5 separate regions of the Homo sapiens genome follow, and regions 2, 3, 4 and 5 are each linked to region 1. The links are contacts of gene promoters, found by promoter capture Hi-C in blood cells and fetal thymus (Javierre and others, 2016). All regions are on one chromosome and are shown on one strand. Each heading gives the region's core, a stretch centred on a gene start or on the middle of the fragment in contact. The rest is flanking DNA. Distances are from core to core; before and after follow the strand shown.

Region 1 (3,589 bases), core at 1,090-3,589:
ACGGAAGACCAGAAAACAGAAAAGAAATCAAAGCTTCTGAGAGGAAATACAGCCTCGGGGGGTCAAGGACACAAACAACAACAAAAGACATTGGGTAACAGAGACCAGGTTGAAGCACAGACTTAGTTATGAGGGTGCCAGGGGTTCCCCCAGTGGGGAGACGGGACAGCCGTTCCAAGCTTGGCCTTTTCCTCTGTGCTTCCTGCCTTTCTCTGCAGAGCGAGCTCCTTGCCCACGGGCCCAGGGAAGGGAAAACAGGATGGCCATGGTTGGCACAGGGCTGTTCTGGGTTTTGGAAGCTCAGGGCTGGGTCAGGGTGAAAGGTCAAGTGCACCTGAGTTTGGGGACCTGTTCTGCGGAGGCAGTTTTGGCTGCAGTTTTTATTTGGTGCTGATGCAATGTTTCCAAACAGCCAGCCAGGTGTTTGCAAATACCTAAGACCTTTTGGAAGACTCTGGCTAGGGTGGGAGGGGTGGGGAAGCCTGCTTCCTGGATGCGGGGGGCAGTATTTCAAGTCACAGGCTGAGGGACTGAATGGTGAGTGTGATCAGGGGCCTGGTTTCTCCCCCACCCCGCCTTTTATCTTTGTTCTTTTTTGAGACAGGGCCTTGTTCTCTTGCTCAGGCTGGAGTGCAGTGGTGCAATGACAGCTCACTGCAGCCTCAACCTCCCAGGCTCACGCCATCCTCCCACCTCAGGCTCCCAAGTAGCCGGCCCCACAGGCGTGTGCCACCACACCTGGCTATTTTAAAAGTATTTTATAGAGGTGAGGTCTTGCTATGTTAACCAAGCCGGTCTCAAACTCCTGAGCTCAACTGATCCTCCTGCCTCAGCCTCCCAAAGCACTGGGATTACAGGCGGGAGACACGACGTCCAGCCTTGTTTTTGTTTAGTTCTCCTAGGAGCGGATTAACAGGGTGTTGGGACCTCCAAAAGGAAAAAAGGCAGTTGTACACTGTTCAGCTGAAAGGAACTAAAAATATTCCCCCGTATTCTTGGTATATAAACCTGGGACAAAGAAAAACACTCTGAACGATTAAGGAAAACTTTGGGACTCTTCATTTCCTTGAAAGCCTTTGAAAACCAACTGACTCCCAAACAACCCGTGTGTGTGTGTGTGTGTGTGTGTGTGTGTGTGTGTGTGTGGCGATTGGGAAATCTGTGGTCAGACCCTCGGGCGAATGAGGAGAAGCTCATCCTCGTTTCTCCGGGCCCTCCTCCCAGGCGTCCGTCCAGGCAGGAAAGCCTCCCGAGAAGGGTTCCAAGTTTTGTGCCAACTCCCCTGAATTCTCGTTCCCCCTTCTGTGAAGTAGTGTTATTTAACACAAGGAAAACTGACCCTAGGCTCGATCCAGAATCTAACTCCCAAATGGGTCCTCAGGCTTAAAAAATACCTTCGCCCACAGCCTCTGTCTCCCCTGAAGAAAACGTTTTCCGTTCGGATGAGGCATCGGCCACGGGCAAGCAAGTGGTCCCGCGCCCCCGTCCCCTACCCAGGCGGCCGGCCTGGCTCCGTCACCGCCCGCAGCGTCCGCCCGGGGCCCGCGCGGGAAGAGGGTCCCAGCCCCACATGCTGCGGGGGCAGCCCCGGGACGCGCAGACGCCAGCGCCGCTGAGGGCCGGGGCCGGGACCGGCCGCGCGGCGGGGGCTTCCAGAGCGGCCGGTCACGCTTCCTTAGGTTTCAAGTTTCTAACTTGCTGAACATTTCAGATTTTAACAGCAAAAGCGGCTGACGTCCCCGCGGGCAAGCGGCCTCTCGGGGTCTGCAGCGCCCCAGGGCATCCGCGCCGCCAGCCCCACGCGCGAGCCCGCGAGGCCCCCGGGCCCCCGCACGTCCCGAGGCTCTGAGTCTGGACGAACGCAGGCCGCGTGGAGGGGCCGGCGACCCCTGCCCGAGAGCCGTCCCCTCCTGGAGGGAGCGAGCACAAGGCGCCCGCGGGACCCGGCCCGAGTGCCCGAGCGTGGAGGGGCGGGCGCGCCCTCGGCGGTGGGGCCGCCCGCAGTGCCCCCAGCGCCCGGGAGGGGGCGCCCGGCGGAGCGCAGGCGGGCGGGCCTCGGGCGGCGGGCGCCCCTGACGTCACCGGCCCGCGGTCGCCAGGGCAACGGCCTCATCCCGCGCGCGTCAGAGCCGCCAGTCTCTTGGCAACCGCCCGATCTCCCGCTCTCCCTCCGCCCGGCGCTCGGCCGCGCGTCGCTCTGGCGTCAAAGCGACGTCAATGGGCGGCCCCCGCCCGGGCGGCGGGGGCGGGGCAGGGGGCGGGGACTACGGGGGGCGGGCCGGGGCGGGCCGGGGCGGGGCCGGGCGCCGCGTGCGGCGGAGCGCGGCGGCTCCGGGCTGACATGCGGCGCGGCCCCGGAGGCAGCAGCAGCGGCGGCGGCAGCCGGAGCAGTAGGCACCCGAGCAGCGCCAGCGGCCGAGCGGGCGGCTTCCTGGCCTGGGCGCTCCGGTGGCGGCGGAGGTGAGGCGGCGGCAGCGGCGGCAGCGGCGGCAGCGGCGGGCTCCGGGCGGGCGGAGGTGGCCGCCGTGGGGGCTCCGCGCGGGCGCCGGGCCGGGGCTCGGGGTTGCAGCCACCGCGCAGGGTCCCTGGCCTTGCGCGCGCGGGGTTCGCGGGCGGGGTTGGCGGCCTGGCCGCCCTCGGGCTCCCCTTTGTTGGGGGGCCGGGGTAGGAGTGAGTCCGCGGGGCTCAGGGGCTGGGGAGCCGGGGGTCAGGTTGGAGCCGACCGCGGGCGGAGATACCGGGTGTGGGGGGCGGGTCCGCGATCCCCGAGGTGCCTGGGATGTCGGGGGTGGGGACCGGACGGATCGCGGGCGGCGGGGGCAGGGTGTGGGAGCGGGGCAGGGGACGGTCCTGGGATCCGGATCGAGCCGACCTCGGGTGGCAGGGCCAGGTGTGGGAGCGGGTCCGCGCCCAGAGGTGCTAAAGGGGTCGAGGGTGGGGACGGAACCGACAGCGGGCGGCGGGAGGCGAGTGTGGAATCCCGGCTCAGGGGGTCCCGGGATCGGGACGGAACCGGACTCGGGCGGCAGGGGCCTCTATGAGAGCGGGTCCGTGCGCCCCGCGGGGCTCAAGAGGGTCGGGGGTCCGGGTGGAGCGGGCGGCGGGGGCGGGTCCACACCTCCCACGGGGCTGGAGGGGCCCGTGGATAGAGTGGGGGCGACAGGCGTGGGAGCAGGTCCCTGCGTCCCGTGGGGACTGGGGGCTCCGCGGGCACGGATGGAGCCGACCGCGGGCGGCGGGGGCGCTGGTGGGCTCTGAGCTCTGTGCGGCCCCGCAGGTGCGCGCGGAGCCATGGTTATCATGTCGGAGTTCAGCGCGGACCCCGCGGGCCAGGGTCAGGGCCAGCAGAAGCCCCTCCGGGTGGGTTTTTACGACATCGAGCGGACCCTGGGCAAAGGCAACTTCGCGGTGGTGAAGCTGGCGCGGCATCGAGTCACCAAAACGCAGGTGCGTGGGGGCGGTGGGACCCAGCCGGCGGGGCCTCCCCACTGGACCCGGGGCGACCCGACCTTTGGCGGGTGGACCCCATGCAGATTCACTGCTCCAGGCTTGATTGTCGTGGTGGGTAAATAGTAACCGTTTTTAGTTC
Region 2 (3,390 bases), core at 631-3,130, 240 kb after region 1:
TGGGAAAACCATTTGCCACGATCTGGTAGAGCTGAGCACAGGTACACCCCATGACACAGCGATTCCACCCCTAGGACCCACAGAGACTTGTGTAATAACACTTGCAGCAGCATTTTCTGCAATAGCCAAAAATCAGAAGCAACCCTGATGTTCACCAGCAACAGAATGGATAAGTCGATAAACAGTGGAACACTATATAGACGCATGAAAACAAATGGCCCATGGCCACGCACAGCTGTGGGGTGAATCTCACATGCAAGACAAGACCAAGGGAGAGAAGCAATCCCATCCGGGTCCACGCAGTATCACCTTGTTTACCTCAAGTTCCAAAACCACAAAAGGAAGCATGATGTTGTTTAGGGATGCATTCCCACCCACATGGAAACCCTAAGACAAAGCAAAGGAATGAACATCACAAAAAGTCAAAATGTCTCTTACCTGCAGGGTAAGATGCAGAGCCACACAGCCAGGGGTTTTGATCTGTTTCGTCTGCGGCTATATCCCAAATGCTTAGCACAAAGCCTAGCACATAGCAGGGACTCAATAAAGACTTGCTGCATGCATGAACGAATGAATGAATGAACGAATGAGATGCGATCCCAAAGGGTGCACAGGCCACTTCTAAGGTTCTGGTTAAGGTTCTATTTCTTAATCTGGGAAGAAGTTCCCCTTTTTTTTTTTTTTGAGATAGATAGGGTCTCACTTTGTCGCCCAGGCTGGAGTACAGTGGGACGATCACAGCTCACAGCCTCTGCCTCCTGGGCTCAAGCAATCCTTCCACCTCAGCCTCCCAAATAGTTAGGACCACAGGCATGCACCACCATGCCTGGCTAATTTTTGTATTTTTTGTAGAGACGGGGTTTTGCCATGTTGCCCAGGCTGGTCTCGAACTCTTGAGTTCAAGTGATCCTCCTGCCTCAGCCTCCCAAAGTGCTGGGATTATGGGCGTGAGCCACTGCACTCAGCAGGCTAACCATTCTTTAAAATGTATATCTGTATTGTATGTACTCTACTGTATGTAGCATATATTTTACAATAAAAATAAAATTGTTTTAAATCACAAAAGCGTTTGAAAAAACAGTAGTCTGGGGACAACGTGTATTTATACACGAAAGACATCAAATAACGAAAGCCCTGTGATTTTAGAGCAAAAAATAGACAGACAGAAGAAAATAATGAGTACAGAAAGTTCAGGGAAAGGGTGTGGAGCCATTCTTTTTTCTTTCCTGTATCCCCGAAGAGCCCAGCAAACTGAGTTGGGTTTTGCTCCATTTCTTGGCAAATGCAGAGAAACACCACGAGCTTGCCAAGGGAGGTTGGCATGGGCACTCTGTAAAATGCAAGATCCTCCCAGACCCGGTGGGGGCCGGGAGGGAGCTCTGCCACGCCAAAGAGCTCCCGGCCGAGCCAAGCTTCCCACAGGGACGCAGAGGCAAGGCTGCCAACTGGTACAATTACCAAGGGGGCCGGGAGAGCATCAGCCTAATGTCTCTGCACACAGAAAAGAGAGAAGAGGAGTTAAGAAGGGTGGTGGGGGCGGGGGAAGAGGAAGAGGAAGAGAAGAGACGTTCTCAGCCCTCAAGTAGATGAATTAGAAAATCAAATCAAATAAAAAAGGAACCAGAAGAGACCACACCTCAAACATCAGGAAATGAAAGTAACGTTCCTCACACCTGTAATCCCAGCACTTTGGGAGGCTGAGGCGAGCAGATCACCTGAGGTCAGGAGTTCGAGACCAGCCTGACCAATATGGCGAAACCCCATCTCTATTAAAAATACAAAAAGTTAGCTGGGCATGGTGGCAGGCCCCTGTAGTCCCAGCTACTCGGGGGGCTGAGACAGGAGAATAGATTGAACCCGGGAGGTGGAGGTTGCAGTGAGCCGAAATCACGCCACTGCTCTCCAGCCTGGGTGACAGAGCAAGGCTCTGTCTCAAACAAAAAGAAAGTAACTTTCCTATGTGTTGGGTTTCCCACCTCAAGTTGTGGCGAGAGCCACCCCACAGGCCACTGCTTAGGTCTGAGGGTGGCGAGGAGTGAGGGTGCCCAGCCGGCCACCCCATCAGGGGATGTCCTGGCTCTGTGTTTTCAGACTCAATGACCAAGGGCCACAGTAGGAAATAAATTTTCCACCATGATCCAGTGTGTATCGCATGTGTGTGCCTGTGTGTGTAGCACTGAAGTAAAGGTTGTGAACCAATGTATACTTCCACTCTACTCTATTCTATTCCTTCTTTAAAGATGCTGGTGGAGACCCACTGAATTAATTTCATGAGCCACCCATGGGATGTGAGCACAGCTGGGAAAAGATCTCAAGGTTTTGATCCTGGGATCTATGCACAAGCTTGCCCCAGCCCACACACTCCCTGAGTGTATGTGAATGTGCCTGTGTGTACACATGTGTGTGTGCATTGCATGTGAGCACATGTATGCATGTATGTGCATTCATGTATGTATCTGTGTGTGCTCATGTGCATGCATGTGTGCACTGTGTGCATGTCTGTTGTGTGCATGTGTCTATTGCTCATGAATGTGTGCTCGTGTGTGCACTGTATGTACATGTGTGTATGTGTTCGTGTGTGTGCTCATGTGTGTGCACTGTGTGCGTGTGTTGTACATGTGCGTGTGTGTGTTCATGTATGTATGCCCATAGGCATGCATGTGTGCACTGTGTATGCATGCTTGTGTTGTATGTTCATGTGTGTGTGCCTAGAAATGAGTCCATGTCTTCTGATCATATTTTCAGAGGTGTCCTTGATCCTCCAAACCCACCCCAGTCCATTATGTCACAGAAGAAGAAACCGAGGTCCAGGGAGGCCTCAGTGAGTCAGGGGCTAAGCAGAGGCGGAAACCTCTTGACTCCTGCTCCGAGCCGAGCACATGAGCCTGTGACTCAGGGCCCAGTCCCTGCTGAGGAGCCTCCAGCTGCCGCCTCAGGCCTGTCTGGACTCCCTAGGAGACCTGCACTGTATCTGCACACTGTCTTGCAGTAAAGGTTCCCAGGCACTGACCGCATCGGCACTGCCAGGAATCCTGGGCAGCAGCCCCAGCAGACCCCAGGGCTGGCCTGAGTGTCCTGTGGAGCCAAGCCCTGGGCCCAACACCATCCATGGGGCTTCAACTGCTCAGCTAGCTATGGTGCACGTGGCACAAGACCCATAACAGCAGGACCCACGGCAGCCCTCAGAGCGGTGGCCAGGGGATGGGCGGGCAGGAAAATGGAGCCACGGAAGGATGAGGCCAAGGACCAACCCAGTCAATAAAACCAGAGACCTGCACAGAGCCAGCACCAGCTGCACCCGAGGCCACAAGAAAAGAGCCCCCAGCACGGGGAGAATTCATGGAGCTCATGAATATTTTAATAGGGCTTTACAGAAAACAGTCCTGGGTA
Region 3 (3,667 bases), core at 92-2,591, 230 kb before region 1:
GTGATCTGGCCACTGCCTACATCTCCAACTTCATCTCATAACACTCGCCCCCCCAACCCCAACTTATTGGTCTTTCAAACCACTCCTAGGGCACGTGAAGCTCTTTCCTGCCTCTGCATAGGCGGTTTCCGCTCATTTCTCTTCAGATCTGAGCTGATTATCAGCCCAGAGAGGCCTTCCCAGAACAGCCTATCAAGAAGAGCAACCTCCTTCCCTTTTTGCTATTATCTGGTTTTCTTTTTCCTTTTTTCTTTTCTTTTCTTTTTGAGACGGAGTTTCGCTCTTGTTGCCCAGGCCGGAGTGCAATGCTGCGATCTCGGCTCACCGCAACCTCCGCCTCCCAGGTTCAAGCGATTCTCCTGCCTCAGCCTCCCGAGTACTGAGATTACAGGCATGCGCCACCATGCCCGGCTAATTCTGTATTTTTAGTAGAGCCGGGGTTTCACCATGTTGGTCCGGCTGGTCTCGAACTCCCGACCTCAGGTGATCCGCCCGCCTCGGCTTCCCAGAGTGCTGGGATTACATGCGTGAGACACCGCGCCCGGCCTGCTACCTGGTTTTCATTTCCTTTACTACACTTACACAAGGTCTACTTTATTTGCCTGTTTGCCTCCTTGCTTTATTACTAATAGATCCTCGAGGGTAGTGATTTTGTCTGTCTTCTCTCCTGCAGCCCCGTCACGTAAAGGTGCTGGTCAAAGGAAGGCGGCAATCACCGACCGGACACCAGGGCAAATCAGGGCAGCCCAGTGATTCGAGATGCCGGCTGGGGAATCGGACCCATGTGGGTCTTTTCTCAGCTTCCCCGCTTACTGTGACTTTCATAAGTAACGGAACCCCCTCAACCCGTTTCCTTAAGTGTAAAAAGGCACTAGACACAGCAAGAAGCGGTTCCGGCAGCGCGGAAACCGAAGCACACGCTGGGTGTCACGACAACACGTGGAAGCCGCATTCCGTGCCGGGGCCCTGGCCCTAGCCCCAGCCCCGGCCCCCGGCCCGCCATGTGGCGCGGCTGACCGCGGCCGTGCGCCCACCTGTCTCCCTCTGCGTCTTCACGCTGATGTACTGGCGCAGCTTCTTCACCGCTCGGTCCCGGATGCCCTTCTCGCTGGACGCCAGCCGCTGGGCAAATTGGATCTCGGCCGGCTGCATGGCGGGGGCCATCGCGCCCGCTGGAGCATCCCCGGCCGCGCAACCCGCGGTGCCGCTGCAGCCAGCCGAGCGCTGCGGAGCAGCCAGCCACCGTCCGCCCGGGCCGCGACTGCACAGAAGGCGGCGGCGGCGGCGCGCGGGCTGATGGCGTCACAAAGGCGCCGCGGCTCGCAGCGCGCTCTGGGAGTGAGCGCGGCAGTGGCCCTGGCAGCTGGCGGAGCGGCCCAGCCCGTGTGCACGTGGCGCCGGCGCTGCCTTTCGGTTGCCAAAATTCAGGCTGTAGACGGCGAGGTTAGCCAGGGTTAGGACTTGACCAGGAAGAGACGGAAGGCTGTTTGTAAACGGTCTAGGATTTTTTGTTTGTTTTTGAGACAGGGTCTCCCTCTGTCGCCCAGGCTGGAATGCAGTGGCGCGATCTTGGCGGTGATCCTGGCTCACTGCAGCCTCGACCTCCCAGACTCGATCGATCCTCCCATCTCGACCGCCCAAGTAGCTGAGACTACAGGCGCGCGCCATCACGCCCCACTATTTGTTATTTTTTTGTAGAGACGGTGTCTCGCTATGTTGCCCAAGCTGGTCTCAAACTCCTGGGCTCAAGCAATCCTCCCGCGGCGGCCTCCCTGATCGCTGGGATTACAGGCTTGAGCCGCCGCGCCTGGCCACGGTCCAGGATCTTTAATCCCATTTAGCACACCTCGTTGAGCCAGCAGCTTACCTGCGATCTCCGTGGCGTGGAGTTTTTAACTGTGGAGCCCCCGGGCCCCCGGGTGGAGTTGAGACTGGAAGGAAAGGCCGGCACTGGGGCCTGTTGAGCGGGTGGAGGGCTCGCCTTCCTCCAGTGCCTGCAGAGGCTTGGGCAGATCGGTGCGCCCCTACCCCGGAGCCCTGGTGCCAGTGCAAGGGCGCCCGCGCAGGCGTCCCGAGGCCTGGCGAGCACGCGCGCTTCCAGGGGAGTTGGGCAGGGCGGGCTGCTTGCTAATTCCAGAGAGGGAAGAAATCTTAGCTTTGGGTTCATCTAAAACCCGAGGCCATCCTATATTTTGCGGACTCAGCGGGCGTGCTGGGGCAAGTTAATGGACTAGGTCACTCCACACGTAGCGGGGGTTATCTCAGTTGCTCCGCTCAGTTGTCTAGGCGACCTCCCGAGGTGCCTGTTGACACAAAAATTCAACCCTTAACGTAAAAGCGCCTGAATCCGAGCGAGGGAAGGCGCGCGGAGGCGAGGTTTCCAGCAAAGACTGCCCATTTGAACGCAGTCCCCCTTAGTGTAGCATTCCTCGCCAAACAGGAAAGGACCCATCCGATTTATTTTACTTGACACTTACATCAGGGGCTGACTTTCCTTCTGCTTTGCAGATAACAAGTTTAAAACCCCGGCTAAGCCAGAAGAGCCAAAGAGGGACCTCGCCAAGGCCACTCCTCGCTCTCTAGGCCGAGAATACTGCGCAAATTCTGGGAGGTTTGGGCCTGGCGGCTCTCCGTTCCCGACCCCCGGCGTGGATTCGTTCCCGCGCTTTCTGGCGTGAGGGGTCAGAGGGCGCGCCGACGCTCAGGCGAACGGAGCGGAGGCGGCAGCGGCCATGGGCGAAGCGGGCGCCGCTGAGGAGGCCTGCCGGGTTAGTGAGGAAGCCCTGGCCGACGCCAGCGTGTTTGAACCGTCGCCATTCGCTCCCCTCAGGGCCTCGCCCCGTGCGCTCGGAGACGGCTCGCTGTCGCGTGCTTGGGGGAAGCCTGGAGACTTCCTCCCCTAACGGCGTGGGCTGGGCCGGAGCGGGGTGGAGACCTGGGGCGGGAGGCGACTTCGCCTCCAAACCCACGCGGGGACCCGGTCTGTGAGGCTGCGCGTGGTGGGGGCACTCAGTGGCGCCAAAGCGGGCATGGGAGCGTGGGATGGATGGTCACTCTCTTCTCTGCTCCGTGGAAGCCCAGTTCCCCTCCGAAGGCCCTGGCCCCCTGCTTCGGGACTTAGCGTCAGGCTTAGAGAGAATCTGCCCTCCATCGATTTTATAACTGTAACTGATTGCATGCGATGGAGAAGGCGCTTGGACTGGGGCCAGATCCGTGTTCACATCCTGCTTCCACCCGTTATTAATTGTGCTGCATTGAGAGTCATCTAGCTCCCGTGCCTTAATTTCCATCTAGACAATCTTGGAGGCTTGGGGTGAATAGTAGATGAGATCACGGGCGGAGGGCTTGGCAAACCCAGTAGGAAACCAGATGACTTCCTTTTCCTCCTGATTAGTTTGGTGCTGCAGTGATAAAAAGTTGCAGGCGTTTTCTTTGACTTTTAGGAATAGAGCTCTTGTATGACTTTTCTTTTTCGTGGTCTTGCTCTGTTGCCCAGACTGGAGTGCAGTGGCACGATCATAGCTCACTGCAGCCTCCAACTCCTGAGCTCAAGCCTTCTTCCCGTGTCAGCCTGCTGCGTACAGGCGCCGGCCACCACACCTGGCTAATTTTTGTATTTTTAGTGAGATGGAGTTTCACCATACTGGTCAGGCTGGTCTTGAACTCC
Region 4 (3,275 bases), core at 129-2,628, 150 kb after region 1:
GAGCCCCCAGGCCCTGGTGGCATTTGTCATGGGTGGCATTGGTCTCTGTCCCTACAGCCTGCCTCCTGGGGCCACCACCACCTTCCTGGCTGCCCCCTCCAGCCTGGCTACTTAGGGGCTACTGGTACCCAGGAGATCAGGGAAGCCTGGGTTGCCAGCGGCCGGGGTGGGGGCTGTGGCACCTGCCGGCCGCTATGATCTGAATGTTGGTGCCCCCAGAAACTCATCTGTTGAAATCCTCACCGCATCATGATGGCATTGGGAGGCCATGGGGCCTTGAGGAGGTGGGGAGATCCTCAGGGTGGAGCCGTGTTCGTGGGATTCACGCCCTGATAAAGGCCACACAGAGCTCCCTCAGTCCTTCCACACGCAGGGACACAGACGAAGGATGTTGTCTGTAACCCAGCCGCAGGCGCTCACGGGAATCCGACCCTGCTGGTGCCCTGAGCTCAGCCTTGCAGCCTGCAAGGCTGTGAAAAATAAATGTCCATGCTTAGAAGCCACCAGTCTATGGTACATCATTACAGCAGCGGGAACGGACTGAGACATGCGGTGATCTCGCTTCTGGGGACAGGGGTTTCTGTCCCCAGCTCTCAGCTCCATCATCGACCCTGACAGAGTCCACAGTGAACATCCAGGGAGCAGGGCCAGCTCCCGGGCCCCTGTTCCTGGGGTATGGCTGCTTGTGTCTCACAGCAACGTCCCCCACACCCTGCACCTTATAGAAAAGGGGGCGGGACTCATGAAGACTCCTGGGTCTTGGCTCCTGGCCTCACCTGCTCAGAACCCAGCTCAGTTCCCCCATGGCCTCCATCCCTACCCAGTCCCGAGTCATCATTGCCCACTTGGCACCCCCCAGCCCTCCCTGGCTCCCCGCAGGGTCCATCCCTTCCTGCCAGGTCCTTGCTGGGATTCTCTGTGCACGTGGGACTCCCCCATTTCCGGGGGGATCAACCCCAGTGCTGATGAAGGCAAACTCAACAGCAGTCACACCTGGGAGTCCCACTGTCGGGGTCTGGGACCAAGAGGGAGCAGCAGGGCCAGGAGGCTTGCTGGGACCTCTGGGATAATATGACAGATCACGCCCACACACGAGGATGGCCAGTGGGGACGTTTGAGGTTCTCCCAGGCTTGATCACTCCCAGGCCAGGGCAAACCCCACACCCCACCTTCCACCCTGGGAGAAGTGGTGTCCCTGGCTACAGCCTCAGTGAGCACCCCCTGGTCTCTCTCCTGGCCCTGCCTCCCTCCAGGCTCACTGCAACCTCCACCTCCCAGGTTCAAGTGATTCTCCTGCCTCAGGCTCCTGAGTAGCTGGGACTACAGGTGTGCATCACCACGCCCAGCTACTTTTTGTATTTTTAATAAAGACAGGGTTTCATCATGTTGGCCAGGCTGGTCTCGAACTCCTAACCTCAGGTGACCTGCCCGTGTTGGCCTCCCTAAGTGCTGGGATTCCAGGCATGAACCACGGCACCCGGCCAAGAATTTGTTTCTTTATAAAAAATCATGGCTAGAAGGTTTGGCTTTTTTTCTTACTGTAAAAGCAATGAATGTTCATATAATATTGGACTTGTAATAAAATGTATCCCAAGTCTGCAGGGAATCCCCATGTGGGTGTCAATGGGCACCTCGACTTAGTGGCCGGCTCTTAATTCATGGGTCCACCCCCTGCACCTCTTCCCCCTTGGTTGGCTCAACTTCAGTCAGGAGGACTGGAGCCCACCCGGCCACTCAGGCCACAAGCCCGGGATCTCCACGGAGTTGGGGGTCCCCTCCCACCCGCATCCAACCCATCAGCTAGCTCTGTTGACTGTGCCTTCAAAACACATCCCACATTGGGCCTTTCCTCACCACTCGAGGCGTGTCCCTGTGCAAGGCCCTCGATTTCTCCATCAGCATTTGCAGCCAGCTGGGGGCCCGACCTGGGCAGATCCAGCCAGAAACTGGGAAGTGGCCACAATGGCGGCGGCCACCTTGGTGGACGTGGGGAGAATTGGAATGGCAGGAGATGAGTGAGATGCGGAGACAGATGTGTCTCTGCGCTTGTGCCAGGCTCCAAATTTGGAAGCATCGCTGATGGCCAAATTCCAACGAACCTGGAGTCCTGCTGTTGACTTTCTGATCCAACCGGTGAGTGCAGGGTGGCCCGGCCCTCCCTGTGAAACCAGACTTGTCTGGGGTGGTGTCTGACTTTTCTCAGTGAGCTCCGAGGCCCACCATTCTCATATCATCTGGAGGGTTTGTCAAAATGCAGATTCGTGGCTCCACTTCTGACCTATAGATCAAAGCTGTGGGGATGGGGCCCGGGAGCCTGTATTTCAAACAGCTCCTAGGTGGTCCTGGTGGAGGTTAAGAACTTCTGGCCTGGGGATTGGGAGTGTGGACTCTGCAGCGGCTCATCTCAGGCTGGAGTCCCGGCTGGAGTTTGTAAGCTACACAACTGGCCGCCCTCCACATCCTCCTCCGCAGGACAGGCTCCTGCCGTGAGTGAGACGATGTCCAGCTCAGCTCGGCGCCTGGCACACTGGGGACTGCCCTCAGCTCTGCCACTCTTGTTATTGTGGTTATTGCTGTGGCCATTGTGACGCTCTGCCTTCCTTGTTGTTGAGCCTGCTGCTGGTTGCACGTGACTTTGGACACCTATTTCCAGATGCCCGGCCCTGCACGCATTCATGGGGTTGCCGTGGAAACTGTGCTGTGAGGATGGCAGAAGCCGCAGGGTGAACAGAGTCTGAGTTTCCCAGGCACCGCGGCGGGCGTCAGCTGATTATCTGCAGTGGGCATCTCTGTTACTCTGCGATGGTCTCGGGTCTCTGTTAAGCATATTCACTGACACGGCACCACTACTCCCCCTTGTCCAAGGCCATCCCCAATGCCACCCTAAGGCAGCTTTTACTTTGGAAATCTTTATTATGACTTTATTTCCTATTTAATTTATTAGACTCCTTTGATGAGAAATAACACCTAAGTTTCCCCTACTCTCCTTTAAAACAAATTCCCCTCCATGGTTTCTGTGTCTCCTCCTCCTTCGCTGTCTGAGTTTCTTGGCTTCTCTGTTTGAATCAGTGCCCAGCTCTGTGGAGGGTCTGCGGCTGCTGCCTCTGCCAGTGCTGGTCCCACCCCGTCGCAGAAAACACATTTATGAGAAGGCGTGGGGCGGACAGAAGATGCCCCGTCCTGGACTCCACGCCCGGCCTGGGGGCAGTGGGGCCCTGAGGTGTCCTGGCTCTTGTTGAGAAAAGTATTAGTATTGGGCTGGAACCCCGAGAACG
Region 5 (3,260 bases), core at 477-2,976, 220 kb after region 1:
CCTGGTCCTCCCAGGCTTAGGGAACCCTGAGCTTCTTTCCACCGCTGAGCTGGGACCCCCTGGTCCTCCCAGGCAGAGGGAACCCCGAGCTTCTTTCCACTGCTGAGCTGGGACCCCCTGTTCCTCCCAGGCAGGGGGAACCCCGAGCTTCGAGCTGGGTGCACTCAGCAACAGGAGTCCTCCTGCTTTTCCCTGGACAGACACCATCAGGACAGTCTCACCAGCATCCACTCCCACTGCCCTCAAGCCACATGGACTTGTCTCATCTGAACAGATTTGCTGGTCATGTCTCCGGGAAATGAATGATGCCCAGAACAGGGCCAGTGTTTCCAGGATCTTCCAACGTCAGCCTTGAAAATAGCTTTGAAGCTTCAATCCTAGGCTCCAGAGAGGTGTCTCCCTCATCTAATTAGACCATAAAATCAGTTTTGGCAACAGGGGAAGGGGAACATTTGGCCAAAAGAGTGGAAAAGCAGCTTCTGGAAGGACCCCAAATCCCAGCCACAGACCCAGCCCTTCTTGTTCATGGATCCGCGTGGGAGCATGGGTCAGAGAGGAACCGTTTAAGAGAAGGGGGTGGCTGGGAGCAGTGGCTCACGCCTGTAATCCCAGCACTTTGGGAGGCTGAGGCAGGCGGATCACGAGGTCAGGAGATCAAGACCATCCTGGCCATCATGGTGAAACTCTGTCTCTACTAAAAATACAAAAAATTAGCTGAGTGTGGTGGTGCACACCTGTAGTCCCAGCTACTCAGGAGGCTGAGGCAGGAGAATTGCTCAAACCTGGGAGGTGGAGGTTTCAGTGAGCCGAGATTGCGCCACTGCACTCCAGCCTGGCAACAGAGCGAGACTCTGTCCCCCAGAAAAAAAAAGAGAGAGAGAGAGAGAGAGAAGGGGGTGACTGCTACTGCAGAAAAGAACAATAAACATATGATTACCAGTGCTGCCTGGGCACCTGCTTGGCCAGAGGCTGCAGTGCCTGCCCTGGGTCATCCCGACGGCTCACTGGGCAGGTGGCACCTTCCCGCTGAAAGGTGAGGGAAGAAGGGACTGGCCGTGTCCCACTAACTGGCCTAAGAGGCAGAAAAGAGAAACACAACACGCCTTTGGAACTGCTCAGCTGCTTCGCTCCCCTCTCTTCACCTCCATCAATGCTCCCAGTGGCTGCGCCCACTCGTCCCCCCATCCCCATTTCACACCACGGGGGTCTGAGTGCCGATTCAGCTGCAGACCCTCCAAAGGCTTGATTGGCTTCTCCCCCACCTACCCCCTCCCTTGGCTAATAATAAAGACTGTCCTGTGATGCAACGGGGACGAAAGACACTTGACCTCCCCCAGCGAGCTCCACTAGGTCAGCTTGTAGGAGAGGAAAAGAAAACACCTGCACCGTGACAAACCTGTTGGCGAGAGTGACGGAGGCGCTGGAGAGCTGCGCCAGTAGGACAAAGAGCTCCAGCACCTGCAAGAGCAGCCACCAGTCCAAAATGGATGTGCCATTTACTCTGGCTTCCAGGCAGGGCTCCGGTCCCAGCAGGGCACCACCCTTTGTCTGCCCCATGGAAGGTGGGCACCAAAGTCCAAGGCTCAAGAAGGAGGAGGTGTAAAGGCCCTTAGCTCGGTCGCCTAAACTGGTCACCTGAGTGTCCACCCACAATCCACTTGAGCTGACCCAGTCTGCCTTGGGGGAGTCCCCTCAAACACCACAGAGGGGCACGTGTGGTCATTGCCTCTGTTGTCCACCCAGTGGCCCTTCCTGCAGCCTGGATGATATGGTTTGGCTTTGTGTCCCCACCCAAATCTGATCTCAAGCTGTAATCCCTGTGTATCGGAGGAGGGACCTGGTGGAAGGGGATTGGATCATGGGAATGGTTTCCCCATGCTGTTCTCAGGACAGTGAGGGAGTTCTCACAAGATCTGATGGTTTAAAAGTGATTGGCAGTTCCCCCCTCGCTCTCTCTCTCTTCTGCTGCCATGTAAGACGGTACTTGCTCCCGCTTTGCCTTCCGCCATGATTGAAAGTTTCCTGAGGCCTCCCCAGCCATGTGGAACTGGGAGTCAATTAAACCTCTTCTCTTTTTACATTACCCAGCCTCGGGCAGTTCTGTTTGTTTGTTTGCTTCTTTGTTTGTTTGAGACAGAGTCTCGCTCTGTCGCCCAGGCTGGAGTGCAGTGCCAGGATCTTGGCTCACTGCAACCTCTGCCTCCCAGGTTCACGCCATTCTCCTGCCTCAGCCTCTTGAGTAGCTGGGATTACAGGCACCCGCCACCACGCCCAGCTAATGTTTATATTTTCAGTAGAGATGGGGTTTCACCATGTTGGCCAGGATGGTCTCGATCTCTTGACCTCGTGATCCGCCCTCCTTGGCCTCCCAAAGTGCTGGGATTACAGGTGTGAGCCACTGCGCCTGGCCTCAGGCAGTTCTTTATAGCAGTGTGAAAACAAGCTAACACACGGGGAGCCCACCTGGATCACGCACATGTGAAATTTACATTGCCCAGAACCGGATGGTGGATGCAGAAGCCTATGCACGGCTAGATTCCGGGGGTAGCCCAGGAGGGCACGAATGGGTTCTGTCCCCAACAACAGGGTTCCTCCCCACCAGCAGCCCAGCTGGAGCCTGGAACTCCAGCATTAGAACTTTGATTTCTTTTGACTAAGATCTGGAAAGTTCTCATAGATAGCATGTTGATGTGGCCTCTGGCATTGACCACTCAGTGGGAACAATTCTACCTGCTGTTTTCCAGAGAGTTGGTGTGTAGGGGGCAGGGGAGGGAGGTGATGGCTGTGGGTCCCTGAAGTCCTGGCCTCCTCCACCATCCCCTTCAGCCACTTCCTTTGGAGGTCAGATCAGAGGCCGACAGAAAAGTCTGCAAGTTCCAGTATAAGGGAGGCCGTCTGAGAAAAGCAAAGCAAATTTAACTAAAATTAGGGGCCACCGCCCCACACACAGAACTTGCAGGAAAATTTAGAAAACCCAAAGACAATTGGCTTTTTTTTATTTTTTACATTTTGTAAGATTGGGTTTTTATACGTGTTTTAGACAACTGGCTATTTATATATATGAACCCAAGAGAAAAGCTTTCTCTTTATCGAGACAGAAAATTCAACTCACCTCTCAAAGCCTGGGAAGGCCACTGTCATCTCCCTCTCTAAATAGAGATTCTTCTACCAAAATACATAGGTAAATTTTAAAATTGCTCTTCAATCGAATCACTCATTTATAAAAGCCACTTCAGACTCTTATAGTGCCCCCAGCCCTG

Evidence for each region. The method cuts DNA at HindIII sites, captures the fragments that hold promoters and counts their contacts. A CHiCAGO score of 5 or more calls a contact.
Region 2: a fragment that was not itself captured here is called in contact with the fragment with the promoter of SIK1 in region 1 in 11 of 17 cell types (endothelial precursors, M0 macrophages, naive B cells and 8 more); the score reaches 18.4 in endothelial precursors.
Region 3: a contact is called between the fragment with the promoter of HSF2BP here and the fragment with the promoter of SIK1 in region 1, in 3 of 17 cell types (endothelial precursors, M0 macrophages and M1 macrophages). The highest score is 6.4, in endothelial precursors.
Region 4: a fragment that was not itself captured here is called in contact with the fragment with the promoter of SIK1 in region 1 in 6 of 17 cell types (endothelial precursors, M0 macrophages, naive B cells and 3 more); the score reaches 6.7 in endothelial precursors.
Region 5: a contact is called between a fragment that was not itself captured here and the fragment with the promoter of SIK1 in region 1, in 8 of 17 cell types (endothelial precursors, naive B cells, M0 macrophages and 5 more). The highest score is 12.2, in endothelial precursors.

The regions. Positions count from the first base shown.
Region 1 is chr21:43,425,881-43,429,469 of GRCh38, reverse strand. SIK1 (salt inducible kinase 1) reads left to right here and starts at 2,339. Exons shown (of 14, transcript NM_173354.5): 1 at 2,339-2,460; 2 at 3,278-3,447. The coding sequence starts at 3,292. The HindIII fragment of the contact is 3,848 bases long and covers 182-3,589 here.
Region 2 is chr21:43,186,985-43,190,374 of GRCh38, reverse strand. No RefSeq gene overlaps it. Among named protein-coding and RNA genes, the nearest start is that of CRYAA, 20 kb to the right of the region's middle. The HindIII fragment of the contact is 931 bases long and covers 1,415-2,345 here.
Region 3 is chr21:43,657,162-43,660,828 of GRCh38, reverse strand. HSF2BP (heat shock transcription factor 2 binding protein) reads left to right here and starts at 1,341. Exons shown (of 9, transcript NM_007031.2): 1 at 1,341-1,443; 2 at 2,509-2,768. The coding sequence starts at 2,733. It overlaps RRP1B (ribosomal RNA processing 1B), which reads right to left and starts at 1,269. Exons shown (of 16, transcript NM_015056.3): 1 at 1,035-1,269. The coding sequence starts at 1,164. RefSeq lists an enhancer at 277-326 and a silencer at 1,047-1,236. The HindIII fragment of the contact is 5,137 bases long and covers 1-3,667 here.
Region 4 is chr21:43,270,346-43,273,620 of GRCh38, reverse strand. No RefSeq gene overlaps it. Among named protein-coding and RNA genes, the nearest start is that of LINC00322, 60 kb to the left of the region's middle. The HindIII fragment of the contact is 9,130 bases long and covers 1-3,275 here.
Region 5 is chr21:43,204,892-43,208,151 of GRCh38, reverse strand. No RefSeq gene overlaps it. Among named protein-coding and RNA genes, the nearest start is that of CRYAA, 38 kb to the right of the region's middle. The HindIII fragment of the contact is 2,709 bases long and covers 372-3,080 here.